2 separate regions of the Homo sapiens genome follow, and region 2 is linked to region 1. The links are contacts of gene promoters, found by promoter capture Hi-C in human tissues and cell types (Jung and others, 2019). All regions are on one chromosome and are shown on one strand. The core of a region is centred on a gene start or on the middle of the fragment in contact, and the rest is flanking DNA. Distances in the headings are between cores, read along the strand shown. Region 1 holds the start of TRMT11 (tRNA methyltransferase 11). Region 2 overlaps NCOA7 (nuclear receptor coactivator 7).

Evidence for each region. The method cuts DNA at HindIII sites, captures the fragments that hold promoters and counts their contacts. A contact is called where the count stands out against the background at its distance.
Region 2: a contact is called between a fragment that was not itself captured here and the fragment with the promoter of TRMT11 in region 1, in 1 of the 25 tissues and cell types used here (adrenal gland).

The regions. Positions count from the first base shown.
Region 1 is chr6:125,982,660-125,988,264 of GRCh38, forward strand. It overlaps TRMT11 (tRNA methyltransferase 11), which reads left to right and starts at 3,881. Exons shown (of 13, transcript NM_001031712.3): 1 at 3,881-3,963. The coding sequence starts at 3,892. RefSeq lists enhancers at 3,104-3,934, 3,912-4,401, 3,935-4,764. The HindIII fragment of the contact is 9,309 bases long and covers 1-5,605 here.
Region 2 is chr6:125,837,645-125,843,249 of GRCh38, forward strand. The region is part of intron 2 of NCOA7 (nuclear receptor coactivator 7); the gene reads left to right. Among named protein-coding and RNA genes, the nearest start is that of NCOA7-AS1, 22 kb to the left of the region's middle. The HindIII fragment of the contact is 5,608 bases long and covers 1-4,938 here.

The DNA.
Region 1 (5,605 bases), core at 2,631-5,130:
CTTCCTCTGAGAAAAATATTTGAAACACTTTGCAAATTTATCCCATAAATTCACTCCTCAAAGGCAGTTAGAAGACAATAAAACATGCTATTTATCTGTGGTACCTGAGCCTCCTGGGATTCACAGCCCGTCCATCCATCCTCCTTTTCCTCAGGCAGTTACTCTTTAACTTTCATGTGCTTCAGAACCACTTGGTGGGCTTCTTTAAAACACACTCCTAGACCTACTCCCAGAATTTCTGATTCAGCAGGTCTGGGAGTCGGGGAGGATTCTGTATTTCTAAATGGCTTCCAGGTGATATTGATACTGCCTGACCTAGGACCACACTTTGACAACTCCTGCCATAAGTAGTGCTTAAATTTGGCTGCACATAAAATCAACAACTGGGGAACTTTTAAAAATCTTTACGTCAAGGCCATACACCAGCCAAATAAAATTTGAATCACAGGGGATAGATTCCAGGCCTCGGTATTTTTAAAAAACTCCTCAGGTAATTACAATGTGCAGCCAAGTTTGAGAACCTGTGCCCTATAGGATTAAGTACAATTCCCCTTTGGGCCTTGTTATGGTAGACTCTCAAGAAAATCTCTTTTATGGGACCTGAGACTGACTATACGATATATAATAATTTTCCTACTCATGGGAAGCAAATAGGAGCAAGAGATGAGGATTACTGGGAGTTGTGGTTAAACAAGAATCTGTGTGATTTAACAAGCGTGTAGAAGATGACAGGCATACCTACTTTAAATGACTTGCCAGAAGCTTTTCTTTGTTTAGAAATCATGATTGCTTCTGATTTAAGGAAGGAAAGGAGGACAAAAGACGTGGCTCAAATGAGGCAAATGTACTGTAATCTTTGTTACCTCTGGTTCACAAGTTCTGCCAAGGGAAGTAATAAATGGCATCCCATTCAAAGACTTACTGGGTCTCCAGCCTGTTTCCCTGCACATATTTTTCTATGCATAGAACCTGCTTTCCAGGTAGCAAATTAGAGGGCATCGTTTGTAACTAGGGCTTCAAGTTTGTTTTGGGGAGTCTTTAGAAAAGAGGATGGGATCTACATTTCTCTGCTTCTGGGGATCTTGTTGGAAATTTGACCTCAAGTAGCTGAGTCATACTTAAATCAACTCCAGCTGCTTAAGTCTGAATTGGTGCCTCAGAATTCCAACTCATACAGGCTTGTTTCCTTAGAGTAGGCAGTATTATTTCTCTCTTTTCCTAAATTATTTTCATTAAGATTGACAAGAGGGGAGACCCCTCTGGGACATCAAGAAATTCAAACCTCAGTAATGCTCTGCTGCAGTAAAGTTTGTGCAATTCTTATATAACTTATTCCAATAAAATTTTATTCTCAAAACTATTCAGAAGCCTCTTTTTACTAATTGCAAAAATCATAGTCTTAATACATATGAAGATAACTTTTCTCCCTCTTATTGGTGTACAAATCCCTATGGTTCTCTGTGATACCTAGACCCTTTTCAAGTGTTAGATGTTCAGCCTGAGATAGATGCATGGGCAGTTTTGATATTACATGTGACCTCTGCTGCTGGGACCTGTTAACTTTCTATTCATTTCTCTGAGTGTGTCCTACTAGCCTCAATACTTAAGTGGCATATTAAAACCAAAACTCAAAATTCCCCTTTCCAATTTCTGATCCTTACTTCCCAGGAATGTCCTCTGATTTTTTAGTAACAGGCGGCCTATACCAGAGGCTTTAACGTTTGCACAACAGCTGTCTCACAGAAGGAGACAGGTTCTAAGAGGTCTGCCCTAGAAGATGGAACATGGATGGAACTTTGGATCAGTTCCCAGAAGCCAGACTATGAACCTCCTTGCTCCTTACAGTACAAAAAAAAAAAAAAAAAAAAAAAAAGCAAGTCTCTGGATGCAGTTTGATCACCAAATTCCAAAGTCCTTATTCTCCTGCTGCTTCTTAACCACTCTTGTAAGCTCAAGAACTTTGAACAGGTCTGGCTGTGAGTCCCTCAAAGGCAGTTTCACTGATGTCACAGTAGTTCCACACTAACTCTAGTGGCCTGTGCAAGGTTAATCTCTACTTCTCCAGACCAGGTATCCAACAATTTAGATTCATGATGTAAATACTCTCCTGCTGGTTTCTGAGGTGGAGATTTAGTATAGATTTAGTCCTGAACTGTAGCACAAAGGAGCTGGGTGAAAAATCAGTGACACCTGATTCCATTTGGGTTCTCCAGGCCTTGTAGTCTCATTTGTCTCTATATAGCATCATATTAATCCAGGCATGAAAATCAGCAATTCTTTGATATTCTCTATAAAGTTGCCCCATCAAAATTCCATATTAATTTTGCTGAAGATTTGACAAGTTCTGGGGATGGGGCATATCAAGTACTGCACATCATTTCCCCAACATCTCATTGGTTTTCTGTCCCAACCTTGGCCTCTCTTCTCAAATAGTAAACAACTTTTCTTGTCTCAAAGTACTTTTACCCCCTTTTCTGAAGTTTTGGGGTCAAGAGACAGCTATGCTTCTCAGAGTCACTTAGCACAAGTGAACTTGAGACATATTCCTAACAAAAACAGATCTCTTGCTAACAAAAATTCTCATGTGATTTTCTTAAGAAAAATGTCAAGTGCCACTTATTGGCCCCATTCAATATGCCAGATGTTATATTCAACACTTTATGAACATTATTCCACTTAATCCTTGTAACAATCCTTTGCAGGAGGCAGTGTGTTTTTCCATTTTTAAAAGAAAACTCAAGCTCGGAGAGGTTAAGAGCATATACATGGTAAATGGTGGAAGTGAGGTTTGAATCTAATATTGACACCACAGCCTATGTTCTTAATCACTACCACTGCGCATCAACTACGTTTCTGGCACATGCCGCTGGGGATATGCCAGATACATACTCTTTTGCACCTTGTACAATACCACAGAGAAATGCAAAATAAATAATTTTTAATAGGGCAAAGGGCTCGGTACTCTCAAAAGCAGAAATAGCCCAGAGGGAGGGCTTGAGCCCGTAATTCTAGCACTTTGGGAGACTAGGGTAGGAGTATCCCCTGAGACCAGGAGTTCAAGGTTACAGTGAGCTATGATTGCGCCACTGCACTCACCTGGGTGACAGAGCAAGATTGTCTTAAAAAAAAAAAGTCACATATATACATAGAATATGCAATTAAAATATATTTCATAAACTATCTGCTATGAAATCTGTGCCAGTGTGAGCTTTCTCCAAGTTTTAATTTATGGCTGGCTGTGGATTTAGTCCTGAGTCTAACAAATAACACAACCTAATAATTATTGCCTACTTTGAGGAAGATATTCTTTTGGTTTTTGTTAAGAATAGAGTGAACCATAAAAGATTATATCAGACCTCAAGAGTTTATTATAATTGGGTTATAAGGCATGTGCTCTCGAAAAGTTGTTACATAAATACGAAAAATATACTGTTAAATGACTGGCCCAACTAAATCAGTTCCCAAAGCTGTGCTGGTTAGACAAACCTACAAGGAAATGGTGAAATTTCCAAGGAAATGGTGAAATTTCAGTCCAATTTTGAAGAACAGGTTTTGAAGGGCTGTAGAGAAAGCTGGAAGCACACTCCAAGTGGAACGATAACTTGGAAATATACTGTCTTATTATCACAGGCTGCTCCTGAAAGCCACGCGTCCCCGCTCACCAGCTACCAGCGCTGGGAGACCCCTAACCACCAGGCATTCACAGGTGAGGAAGCCCCTCCCACAGCGGCCGGAGTTTCGGACTCGGAGCGCGAGAAACGTCGGGATAGCGCCTGCCTCGCAGAGCTTCCGCTTCCGGCCCTTCAGGCTCTGTCTCTGTGGAGACTGGGCTTTGGGAGGGAGAAAGAGGGACCTAGCGCGGGCCGCGCAGGCGCACGGTGGGCAGCTGCAATGGCGCTGTCGTGTACCCTTAACAGGTATCTGCTCCTCATGGCGCAGGAGCATCTGGAGTTCCGCCTGCCGGTGAGTCCGTAGCGCCCTCCGGAACTTCCGACGGAAGAGGACGCTGGAGTGGAGTGGAGTGGGTGGAGGTGATCTGCATAGCCCGAGGAAGCTGGGATTCGGGGGTCTTCGCTGGTCTGCGCGGGTCACGCGTCCCCAGTCCTCGGGCGGGGTGAGCTTGGCGGAGGGTGTGTGTGAGAGAAGTCCGAGACCAAACCCCTCGGCCTGCTTAAACTTTTCATTCTTTTGCCCGTGTATCAAGTACCGGAGTTAGGCAGGTGAATATGACCGGTCATCTCACTCCCGGAGCTCTTCGTCTAGCGGAGAATAGAGACAGCTAACAAATGCTCAGGCTGGTGTTTGAAGTATTGGAATCTGCGGATCAAGCTCAGTGGAGGGGATGGTGGTGGGGATTAGATGATGGAGAAGTTGAGAAGAGTGTTTTATTTATTCAAGAAACGTTTTCAGAATGCATGTAGTCGAAGATCGGTACGCTGGGCATGTAACGATGATGTAAGCAATCTCTGCCCTCTAGGAGCTTACTGTTTAGAGTAAGGGCTGAGCAGACACATAGGCGTAGAATGACAAAAGAGCGTCGGTAAGTGCAGTGATAGATGCACATGGAAATATGAGAGCACGTGGAAGGGAAATCTAATCTACCTGAGGGGTTGGGGATGTTGGCCTTTAAGAGGGCTTCCAGAGGAGATGACACTTGAAATAAAGGATGAATAGGAGTTAGAGGGCCAAGGAGATAAATCAGTAAATTAGAATTACAAGGTGTTCATTATTACTGGATCACTAGTTATGTGGCAGAGTGGTAAGAAGAGAGCAAGGGAAGTAGATCGAGGCCAGAAAATGAAAACCTTGAGTACCCTGGAGCTTGGAAGGGGGATTTATTGAAAAGCCTTAAGTAAAAAAGTGACCACAAAATTAAATCAGTTTGACAACACTATGGAGGATGGATTTGAAAAGAATAAGACTTGAGCCAGAGACTAGGAGTCTGTGGGAATAGTCTTGTTAATAGATTAAGAAGGTCTGACCTAGGGCAAGGAGTAAGAGGATGGGATAGACTGGGAAAATATTTAGGCCATACAGTCATTAAGGCTGGATTGATTGAATATGTGGGAAAGGGGCACCAGTCAGGTATGACTCCTGGGGTGTATATAGGTAGGAGTGTCTCCATTTAAAATAGAGAACATAGGCAGATGTAAGATTTAAATTTTGTTTACACTGAATTTGATGTGGTTGTGTAACATCAACCTGAGATGACCAAGAGGCGGTGGATATATGAATATGCATAGAGTATGGCAGAGTGATCTGGACTAGTGATAAATATTTGGGAGTCTTCTTCATATGAAAACTAGGAGCGGGGAAGAAATTACTCAAAGGATAAGGTCAAAAGAGTAGCGGGCCAAGTATAGATGCTTGGAAGCATTGATATTAAGGGAAAGTCGGAGGAGGCCATGAAGAAGATGGGCAAGTGCCAGAAGGATGTGAGACCGCAGAAATCAGAAGGGTAAAGTTTTAGGAAGCAGGGACAAATGGATAAATGTCGAATGCAGTTGCTTTTTAGTGAGAAAAGAATGAAAAAGTGTCATTGATAGTCTCAATTAGAAGATAATTAATTGGTGATTTTTGCTAAAGCGAATATGTTGAGTTTTAG
Region 2 (5,605 bases), core at 885-3,384, 150 kb before region 1:
CTTTTTCCACTTCTCCCCCTAATTCATTTCCCACACCTGTGTTCATAAGCTCAGAACCAGGAAAAGGAAACAAACCCAGAGTTCCCTTAGGAGGCAGCATGAGGAAGGAGGCTGAGATCATCCATATGCTATTATATTTTCTCATCATTGCACTTATTAAAGAAATTACGATATACTATTTAAAAATGGAAAGTCCAGACCAGGGAACATATAAATTGGCATGAAAAATGGGACAGTAAATTGCATGCTGCTCTTAGTTGTATGACTGATGCAGAACTACTTCATGGTCGGTGTTAAAAAGGGACTCCTTCCCATATTTCTTCCTCTTAATGAGTAGAGCACACGCCAGTCCCTTTGATAACAAAGCCCTTCCTAGTCCTTAACTCTCTAGGGGCTAAGGAAAAACTTCCCCTTCACCCTCTGAAGCTTCACTGAAAAATGAACTCATAAAAGGCAGATTAATAAGAGAGAAGCATACAATTTTTTTTTAACATTCATGAGGAGAACCCAAGTGTTTGGGAGACCATGAAGTGTTTACCCAAGCCTACAATGGGGTGCAGAAGCTTCTATACCATCTTGAGGTCACGGAAAGAATGGGGCTCAGGGCATGGCCAAAAATCAAGATTACAGTGGCAAGATAGATTATGGGGAAGGAAAGAAGAGGAGGAGGCCTGGCTTGTGAAGGTAGTCTTGTTATACAGATGAAACCTGATAGGTGGCAGCCATCAGAGAGGATAGGTGGTAAATGCTTCTTTCAGATCTTTAAAGGTGTCCGACTCTCAGTTAAATCTTTCCTAGATCAGGACAAGGGAAGACCTGGCTGGATTGATGCAAAACTCCCCCATGAAAGACAGCTTTGCAGGGGTACTTCTGTTTGCAAGCCCTCTGAACAGCCATCTCAAAACATGTCAAAGAAGCATATTCTGGAGTGAAATGCTTTTATTTCCTTCACTAGAGGTGTTCTCTGGTTCTCCAACACCAGTTGAGTGTCCAACAATTCCATTCAATTTTGACACTAACTTCTCAGAGTTAGCCTCAGACTCCACAGATTTAAGAGCTCTGTTGTAAGTCCCAGGTCCCCAGACCACCTGTACTTTTGTCCACCTTGACTGCAAATTTGGGGTTTCCCATGACCGCCTCCTCAGGTTTGAGAGTTCACTAGAACTGCGCAGGGGACTCAGGAAAACACTTTTCTTACACTTAACCAGTTTATTATAAAGGATATAACTCAGGAACAGCCCAATGGAAGAGAGGCAGAGGGCAAGGTATGGGGGACTCAGGGGTGGTAGGTTGGGGGATTCAGGGGTGGTGCCAACAAGCTTCCATGCCCTCTCTGGGTGCACCACCTTCGCAGACGCATAGTGTGTTCATCACCCTGGAAACTTTCAGAACTTCGACATTTAAGGGTTTTTCTTGGAGGTTCATTACCTATGCATGATTGATTAAATCATTAGCCCTTGGTGATTTTTGTTTGTTTGTTTGTTTGTTTTTGAGACAGAGTATCACTCTGTCACCCAGGCTAGAGTGCAGTGGAGCAATCTCAGCTCACTGCAACCTCTGCCTCCCGGGTTCAAGCAATTCTCCTGCCTCAGCCTCCCAAGTAGCTGGGACTGCAGGTGCATGCCACCACGCCTGGATAATTTTTGTATTTTTAGTAGAGATGGGGTTTCACCATTTTGGCTAGGCTGGTCTTGAACTCCTGATTCAAGTAATCAGTCCAACCTCAGCCTCACAAAGTGCTGGGATTACAAGAGTCAGCCACTGCGCGAGGCCTAGGCCTTAGTGATTTAACTCTATCTGCTGTCCCCTCCCCTCTTGAGAAGTGGACTGTCGGGTGGGGCTGAAAGTTCCAACCTTTTAATCCTGGCTGGATCTTTCTGGTGGCTAGACCCCATCTAGAAGCTCTCGAGGCACCTCCCTCCCTCCGCAGCTTTGAGTCATCTCATGAGAATACAAAAGACGCTCTTTATCACTCACGAGATTCCAGTGTTTTAGGAAGTCTGTGCCAGGAACCTGGGGACAAAGACCAAATACAGTAATGTTCCACATAAGCCACTGGCCTCATTTATGATGGTGGTTCCATAAGATTATGATGGGGCTAACAAATTCTATCATCCAGTAACATTGTCACCGTCATAGTGCAACACATTACTCAGTGATGCTGGTGTAAACAAACCCACTGTACTGCCAGCTGTGGAAAAGCATAGTACATACAATTATTTACGGTACATAATACTTGATAATGATGATAAATGACTGTGTTACTGGTTTATGTATTTACTACACTAGTTATTATTATTTTAGAGTGTTTTCTGATTATTAAAAAAAAAAAGCTAAACAGAACAGCCTCAGGCAGGTCTTTCAGGAGGTGTTCCAGAAAAAGGCATTGTTATCATAGGAGAGGATACTTCCCTGTGTGTTATTGCCCCTGAGAACTTCCAGTGGGACAGGATGTGGAGGTGGAAGACAATGACGTTGATGTTCCTGACCCTGTGTAGACCCTCTGTGTTTATGTCTTAGCTTTTGACAAGTTTAAAAAGTAAAACAAAAAAGTTAAAAATTTTAGAAATAGAAAAAAGCTTATAGAATAAGCATATAAAGAAAATATTTTTGTATGCTATACAATGTGTTTATATTTTTAGCTAAATATCAAAAAGTTATTTAAAAACTGATAAAGTAAAAAAGTTATAGTAAGCTAAGGTAGTTTATTATTGAATGAGGGAAAAAATTATATAAATTTAGTGCAGCCTAAGTATACAGTGTTTAGAAAGTCTGCAGTAGAGCACAGTAAGCACATTTACTCACCACTCACTCTCTGACTCCCCAAGAGCAGCAACCATACATGGTAAGGACCCTATACAGGTATATCATTTTTTCTTTTCTTTTTGAGACAGGGTCTTGCTCTGTTGCCCCAGATGGAGTGCAGTGGCATGATCATAGCTCACTGTAGCCTCAAACCTCCCAGGCTCAGGTGGTCCTCCCACCACAGCCTTCTGAGTAGCTGGAACTACTCAGGATGCCACCATGCCTGGCTAAATAAAAAAAAAAGAAAATTGTAGAGACAGGGTCTTTCTAGGCTGGTCTTGAAACTCCTGGGCTCAAGCAGTTCTTCTGCTTTGGCCTCCCAAAGTGCTGGGATTACAGGCTTGAGTCATCGTGCCTGGACACCATTTTTTAATACCATATTTTTATTTTACCTTTTATGGTTTTTTTTGTTTGGTTGGTTTTTTTTTTTTTTTTTTTTTTTTTTTTTTTTTTTTTTTTTTGAGACAGAGTCTCAATCTGTCACCCAGGCTGGAGTGCAGTGGCATGAACTTGGCTCACTGCAACCTCTGCCACCCAGGTTCAAATGATTCTCCTGCCTGAGCCTCCCGAGTAGCTGGGATTACAGGCACCTGCCACTGTGCCCAGCTAATTTTTGTAGTTTTAGTAGAGACAGGATTTCACTTTGTTGGCCAGGCTGGTCTTGAACTCCTGACCTAGAGATCCACTGCCTCGGCTTCCCAAAGTGCTGGGATTACAGGTGTGAGCCACCGCGCCTGGCCTACCTTTTATGTTTTTACACCTGTTTAGATACACAAATACTTACTGGTTACAACTGCCTACAGGATTCAGTACAGTAACATGCTGTACAGTTTTGTAGCCTAGTAGCAATGGGTTCTACCATATAGCCTAGGTGTGTCATAGGCTATTCTATGTGGGTTTGTAGTAAGTATATTCTATAATGTTTGTATAATGACAAAATCACCTAATGACACGTTTCTCAGAATGTATCCCTGTCGTTTAGCAAGGCATGATTATATTTATTTATTTTTTGTTATACCACAACCTGTGGTTGGTTAAAATCAAACTGGTAACTTGAGAGGTGGCCATTGTTGGATTTTTTTTTAAGAGCGTGATCAAGACCGTCTTGTGATTGGATGGTCATTGTCATGGAAATGCACCCTCAGAAAGATGAAAGCAAGGCCAAGATTTTTCTTCAAAATCTATTTTGGGTTTGCCTTTACATGTGAATGAATTATCCAGACTCAGAGTTCTGCACTAACTTTAGAAGGAAAAAAATTTAGAGTAGGTACTACCAGTCTACCACCCCAGAAATTCTGTTTTTGAGCAACATCACTTCCCAAGCAGTAGCCAGCATGTAGCAATTGGAAAAAATACCTCTAAGATGTTGAATGGACATGTTGGATGTAAACCAACTAAATTGAGAGCATCTGCCAAAATAAGTTTTAAAATTTCATACCTGATATTAGATTATTCTTTCTGAAAGTACCTGTAATGACAGAATGATTTATGAGGTCACTTCTAGTTTATGACAATGAAAGTATATTATCATAAAAGGGTACGTATGTCTAAAATTATTCAAAAGCAATGTCAGATTAATATAAGAGTTTATTTTTTAAAGTTGAGAGGAGAGAGAAGTTAAGCTAGAACATATTCTAATTTTATGCTACTTATAAGTGTTTTCTGTCATCAGGCCATTTCTGCTGATCATAAACTATGTTTCCCTTACGAGGCTTTCAGTAGAGTATTAGTTTATATACTAAACTGATTCGTTTCAGGATTCTGTATTTTAGCCCTTATTTCCCTCAATATTTCTACAGTTTAAGTAGTTAACGGGAAAGTCAGTTAAAATTGGATGACAGAGTCGCTGGCATCATTGAGTTTGTGCTTGCTTGAGATTTTTCAAGATAGTATGCTTTGTGTTTGACTAAAATGTCTTCAAGAAAACAACATTTTGCTGTTCTTCCAGAATTATGTCACTGCAATATATTGCTGTTGTAGCAAAATATATGTGTCACGAAAATATATGCCAATGCTGCTTTCTATAAGATTCATTGAGTAGTCAGAGAATACAGTTCATTTTGAGTAAAAAGCATTTCTAAAAAAATAATTTAAAAAGGTTTCCTTTACTAAGGAATTCTAGCAAAATAAAAAAATATTTTGGGAGACTTTCTTGGCTTTGTAAGGGATTATAAACAGCTTTGTGTAAGGGATTATAAACAATGATGAACTGATTCAATGCAGATCTAAGTAATTAGATATGAAAATGAGACTTAACTCTTTAGAAATCCTACCTGTTAAAATTTTCCTTCTAATACTCCCACTTCCAAGAGGCTGTTTTGAAGTCATCCACCATAAATAAAAAATTCACATCTGTAATATTCTAATTGCAGATTTCAGGGTAGTCTTGAATAAACCTTTTGCTTTTGCTTTAGAAATATGTTTATTGCTACTCACTGCCAGTAGTGAATTTTTTCAAGTATCATAGACAATACATTGAATAGCCATAGTAATGATTTAGACATAGACACTAAGACACTAATGTGATATGATGCTCAGTTTGCAATTATTTGTAACATAAAAGCTAAGTTAGCCAGTGTGGTAGGCTGAATAGTGACCCCCAAAGATAGCCAGTTCCTAATCCCTGGTACCTGAGAATGTTACCTTTTATGGCCAAAGAGATCTTGCAGATGTGATTAAGGGCCTTGATATAGGGACATTAACTTGGATTGTCTGAATGGGTCCTATATGCAATCCTAAGTGTCCATATAAGAGGGAGGTTTGACTGCAGAGAAAGCAGTGTGCCATGCAGCTGGCTTTG